Linked DNA regions of Homo sapiens: region 2 is linked to region 1. Evidence: promoter capture Hi-C in 16 types of primary human blood cells and fetal thymus (Javierre and others, 2016). All regions are on one chromosome and are shown on one strand. Each heading gives the region's core, a stretch centred on a gene start or on the middle of the fragment in contact. The rest is flanking DNA. Distances are from core to core; before and after follow the strand shown. Region 1 holds the start of FBXO31 (F-box protein 31). Region 2 overlaps KLHDC4 (kelch domain containing 4).

The links. Contacts are between HindIII fragments. The CHiCAGO score rates a contact against its expected background, and 5 or more counts as called.
Region 2: a fragment that was not itself captured here is called in contact with the fragment with the promoter of FBXO31 in region 1 in 1 of 17 cell types (naive CD8 T cells); the score reaches 5.8 in naive CD8 T cells.

The regions. Positions count from the first base shown.
Region 1 is chr16:87,382,242-87,385,112 of GRCh38, forward strand. FBXO31 (F-box protein 31) reads right to left here and starts at 1,535. Exons shown (of 9, transcript NM_024735.5): 1 at 1,164-1,535. The coding sequence starts at 1,503. TRM-CAT6-1 (tRNA-Met (anticodon CAT) 6-1) reads right to left here and starts at 1,853; the gene lies at 1,781-1,853. It overlaps LOC124903747 (a long non-coding RNA gene), which reads left to right and starts at 1,692. Exons shown (of 2, transcript XR_007065168.1): 1 at 1,692-1,955. RefSeq lists silencers at 891-1,130, 1,271-1,930 and enhancers at 1,338-1,991, 1,992-2,643. The HindIII fragment of the contact is 7,278 bases long and covers 1-2,871 here.
Region 2 is chr16:87,717,808-87,720,507 of GRCh38, forward strand. The region is part of intron 7 of KLHDC4 (kelch domain containing 4); the gene reads right to left. Among named protein-coding and RNA genes, the nearest start is that of KLHDC4, 47 kb to the right of the region's middle. The HindIII fragment of the contact is 8,250 bases long and covers 1-2,700 here.

The DNA of each region.
Region 1 (2,871 bases), core at 285-2,784:
TCTCTAAGAGAATATATATTGCATTATATCCTTTAGGGAAGAAGGTACACACGACTCAGAGGTTTTTTAAAATGTTAAGAGTGGTTTATTTTTGACTGCTGGGGTCTCTGATGGTATTTACTTTGTTCCTTTTGCTGTTCTGCATCGCTTGGATGTTTTCTAACCTGTCCTTTTTACCTAAATATGAGCTGCTTGAACATCAAAGAGCTGTCAACCTTTAAACAGAGAGAGCCTTGAACTCCAGATTAAATAAACATCTCCTCCTGTGATCTGTTACATCCAATATTGCTGAAGGCAAAAGTCCAGCCCGCACCGCTGTGATCCATCCGTCTCTCTACGCCCCCACCATCAGGAGCCCCCGACACTGGGCTTCCCCTACTCCCGTAATTTTTTTTGTTGCTGTTGTTTGAGACCAAGTCGCACTCTGTCGCCTAGGGTGGAGTGCAATGGCCCAGATGTTGGCTCAGTGCAACCTCCGCCTCCCGGGTTCAAGCCATTCTTCTGCCTCACCCTCCCGAGTAGCTGGGATTACAGGCGCCCGCTACCACGCCCGGCTAATTTTTGTATTTTTGTAAGTAGAGACGGGGTTTTACCATCTTCACCAGGCTGGTCTCGAACTCCTGACCTCAGGTGACCCGCCCGCCTCGGCCTCCCTAAGTGCTGAGATTACAGGCGTGAAACCGCGCCCGGCCTGCTCCCATTTCTTCAAGTTCACCTCGTCTCTGGTCAGGGCCAGCGGGGCACCCTCGGCTCGCCTTCAAGACAGGGGCAGAGGAGGCGGCCCCCAGGCGTCAGCTTAGGCCCCGCGCAGACCTCGAGGGATCCCAGCCCCAGCTCCCGGCACGGCCTCGGCCCCGTGGTGTCCCGTGCCCCGCGTCAGGGCCTCTTCGATGCCTCCCTGACGCCCTCAACCCCTCCCTACCCCGTCTGCCTCTCTTGGACCCCTCGGACCCTCCCTAACCGCCTCAAATACCTCCCTGGCCCCCTCAACGTGGTGTCACCGCGGCCGCTCCCCACCCACACCCAAAACACCACATCGCCGGGCCCCGCGCCCAACTGGTGGCCCCCGGCCGGGGCCACCGCCCCCGCCACTCCCAGCTCCGAGGCCTCCACCTGGCAGGGACCCCCCGCCCCTCCCGGCCCCGCCACCCCCGCGCGCTCACCCTCACGGCAACGCCTCCTCCAGATGGTGTCGGTGTGGAGGATGCGCCGGAACTTCGTGCAGACCTGGGCCAAGCTGGGTAGGTCCGTGCCCGGCAGCGACGCGAAGATCTCCACCAGCAGCTCGGGCGGCAGCTCCAGCAGCGAGCAGCGCGGGGGCGGCGGCGAGGGGCCCGCGCACAAGCCGCCCCCGACCCCGGCGCTAGCCTCGATGCGCTCCTCCTCGGGGTCTGTGTCCGGCTCGCTGTCGGCCGCCGCCGTCTCGGCCGGGCCCCGGCGCTGCTGGCGGCGCCGACATCCGCGCGACGGGCCCACGCCGCAAAGGCGAGCACACACCGCCATGCCGCCCAGTGACGGCCACTGCTGCCGCCTGTGCGCACGCTCCAGCGCGGCCCCGCCCCGCCAGCGCCGAGCCACGCCCCCGCCGCAGAGCTCGCCACGCCCCCTGGAGAGCCTAGCCCCGCCCCTACGTAGAGCTCCGCCCCGGCCGCGCCACCCCCTCCCCGCGGGGCGGCGACCTCAGAGACCCCGCACTGCTGCCCTCCCCTCCAGCGTGAGGGCGCCGCCCGTGACGGGCATGAGAAAAGAAAGTGGTGATGCCGAGTGCAAAACGTTAGACTGCCCCGTGTGAGGCTCGAACTCACGACCTTCAGATTATGAGACTGACGCGCTGCCTACTGCGCTAACGAGGCTGCTCGGCGACCACTTCGCGCCGCGGCTTTTGTGGAGATAGGGGTCGCCCCTCGCGCCCGTGCGTCCCGCTTCCGGCGCCCGAAACTGTGCCGCGCCGGCCGGTGAGTAGAAAGATGCGCCTTACAGCCTCCAAATACAGAGGCAGCAGCCAGAACCCCAAAGGGCGCCTAGAAGCCCTTTTGTCCATTGAAACAACGCGCGTTCCATCGTCTCCGCCTTATGGTAACCAAAAGGCCCGAGCTGCGGAGCTCTGCAGGGACCTTCGGGGATCCCGAGCTCCCTGCGGAAGCCCCGGGGAGGGCTTGGAGGGGCGGCGGCCGGCGCGGCCCAAGAGATCCGGGGATGCGCGCCCGGTCTGGAAAGGGAGGCCCTGCCATGCGGCGCCGCCCAAAGGGCGCCTGTTCCTGCAGCTGCTGGGAGCCGCGCACGCCTGCTCCAGCTGGGCTCCGCCGAGGCCGCTGAGCGGGGTCGTCTCCCAGGTCCGCGGGTGGTGACCGCGAAGGCGTCCTCTCACCTGAGCAGCCGCGCACGTCGCCGTGGGCTCGCCTCGGACCCCATCTCTTGGAGGCCCAGGCGGGAGTATCAATCGAGGCCAGGAGCTCGAGACCGGCCTGGGCAATACAGCGAGACCCTGTCTACAAAACAAAATTTTAGAAAGAGAAGCTGAGACGGGAGGATCGCTTGATCCCAGGAGGCCGAGGCTGTAGTGACCCGTGATGGTGCCACTGCACTTCAGCCTGGGCAACACAGCGTGACCCTGTCTCCAAAACAAACAAAAAACAAAAATAGCCACAAATGGCTGGGCGCGGTGGCTCACGTCTGTAATCCCAGCACTTTGGGAGGCGGAGAAGGGTGCATCACCTGAGGTCAGGAGTTTGAGACCCGCCTGACCAACATGGTGAAACCCTGTCTCTTCAAACAAACAAACAAACAAACCACACAGGCCAGGCGCAGTGGCTCACGCCTGTAATTCTAGCACTTTGGGAGGCCGAGGCGGGTAGATCGGTTAAGCCCAGG
Region 2 (2,700 bases), core at 97-2,596, 340 kb after region 1:
GCAGGTCTCTGTCTCCTTGTAGTACCCTGCACCTGTCTATATGAACCGTCTTGTTTTGCTGACAGCAACATTGTCTTCTTAGAATTAACAGCCTATGGGGGAATGTTTTATGCTACAATATTTAAGTACTTCCCCTCCAGACCATGCAAGCCAGAGAGGTGGAGCACTTCACAAGGCCTGATCTGCTCACACGGGTCCACAGGTTCCTTCCGGCACACAGCTGGCTGGCCACACCCTCTAACAGGGCCCATGGTTCGACCTCCCCAACAGCTTCTAACTCCTCCTTCTACAGCAGTTTCTTTTCTTGAAGTGTTGTGACTTTTCCCAAAATCCAACCTGTCTGTCTTCAAAGAAAGTAACAGACAACGGCCTTGTTGCCCTCTGTTTTTCTGGATCACCTGTGCTCAAGCTCTATTAGCATACACCAAACCAGCTTTACATTCACGCAGTCTTTCCACAAAAACCGATTCGCTCTCGCTCTCCCTCTCCCTCTCCCTCCCCCTCTCCCTCCCCCTCCCTCTCCCTCCCCCTCTCCTCCCCCTCCCCCTCCCTCTCCCTCCACAGTCTCCCTCTCCCTCTCCCTCTCTCTCCACGGTCTCCCTCTGATGCCGAGCGGAGGCTGGACTGTACTGCCGCCATCTCGGCTCACTGCAACCTCCCTGCCTGATTCTCCTGCCTCAGCCTGCTGAGTGCCTGGGATTGCAGGCACGCGCCGCCACGCCTGACTGGTTTTTGCTGGAGTGCAGTGGCGTGATCTCGGCTCGCTACAACCCCCACCTCCCAGCCACCTGCCTTGGCCTCCCAAAGTGCTGAGATTGCAGCCTCTGCCCGGCCGCCACCTCGTCTGGGAAGTGAGGAGCGTCTCTGCCTGGCCGCCCATCGTCTGGGATGTGAGGAGCCCCTCTGCCCGGCTGCCCAGCCTGGGAAGTGAGGAGCGCCTCTTCCCGGCCGCCATCCTGTCTGGGAAGTGACGAGCGTCTCTGACCGGCCGCCCATCGTCTGAGATGTGGGGAGTGCCTCTGCCCCGCCGCCCCGTCTGGGATGTGAGGAGTGCCTCTGTCCGGCCGCGACCCCGTCTGGGAACTGAGGAGTGTCTCTGCCCAGCCGCCACCCTGTCTGGGAGGTGAGGAGCGTCTCTGCCCGGCCGCCCGGTCTGAGAAGTGAGGAGCCCCTCCGCCCGGCAGCCGCCCCCTCCGGGAAGTGAGGAGCGTCTCCGCCCAGCAGCCACCCCATCCGGGAGGTGGGGGGCAGCCCCCGCCCGGCCAGCCGCCCCGTCTGGGAGGGAGGTGGTGGATGCCTCTGCCCGGCTGCCCCGTCTGGGAAGTGAGGATCTTCCCGGCCGCCACCCCGTCTGGGAGGAGTACCCAACAGCTCATTGAGAATGGGCCATGATGATGATGGTGGTTTTGTCAAATAGAAAAGGGGGAAATGTGGGGAAAAGAAAGAGAGATCAGATTGTTACTGTGTCTGTGTGCAAAGAGGTAGACATGGGAGACTCCATTTTGTTCTGTACTAAGAAAAATTCTTCTGCCTTGGGATGCTGTTAATCTATAACCTTACCCCCAACCCTGTGCTCTCTGAAACATGTGCTGTGTCCACTCAGGGTTAAATGGATTAAGGGCGGTGCAAGATGTACTTTGTTAAACAGATGCTTGAAGGCAGCATACTCGTTAAGAGTCATCACCACTCCCTAATCTCAACTACCCAGGGACACAAACACACGGAAGGCCGCAGGGTCCTCTGCCTAGGAAAACCAGAGACCTTTGTTCACATGTTTATCTGCTGACCTTCCCTCCACTGTTGTCCTATGACCCAGCCAAATCCCCCTCTCCGAGAAACACCCAAGAATGATCAATAAATACTAAAAAAAAAAAACAAAAAACTGATTCGGCTACGGTAAAGTAGTAAACAGAATCTGCATGAATTTTTGGAGAAGTTAGACTTCATTCTAATACATTATTGCTGGAATGCAAAGACATCTGAGAGAGAGATCAAGTGTCAACATGGAGGGTGAGCGCAACAGGGCTGGCTCTGGAATTACTTAGCATCCGGCTGAGACCCCAGAGCCCAGCAGAGCTGTGCCTGAACGTTTGGAGGCGCATCGGCCGCACACGCCAAGTCCCAACGGGCCCCCACCTCCCGCACAATGTAGTACAGGCCACCTAGCTTAGCCTGCAGCCACATCCCCTGATGAGACCCCACCTCCCGCAGAAGTACAGGCCACTTAGCTTAGCCTGCAGTGAGTCCTCAATGCAGCTGCTTTGGCTCACCCGGCTGTCGGCTCAGACGCCGACCCATTTCAATCATCAGGAGAGGAGAAGACACACAGGGCCGCCCCAAGGACCCCGTCACCAGCTCAGGCCAGGTCACAGAATGGGCCGGCGGTGCAGTGGTAGGTAGATAAAGGCCGGGGAGCGTTTGTGGGAGAAGACGGCCAGACGACTGGTCCTGGGAGAAGACAGTGCTAACGGCAGCACTGATGTTCACCGAAATCACAATCAGGCAGGGATAGGGTGTCGGTTCCAAGCGGACGTGTGTGAACACAGAAACCATGGGGGCCGCTCCTTCCCACACCACTGAGACTGTCCATCCAGGCGCCCGAAGACGACTCCTAAACCACCTTTGCCAGACGCAGGTCCAGCAACCCATCAAGAGCACAGCTCGGGCAAGCAGCGACCGCACGCACCGTGCCCTCCTCAC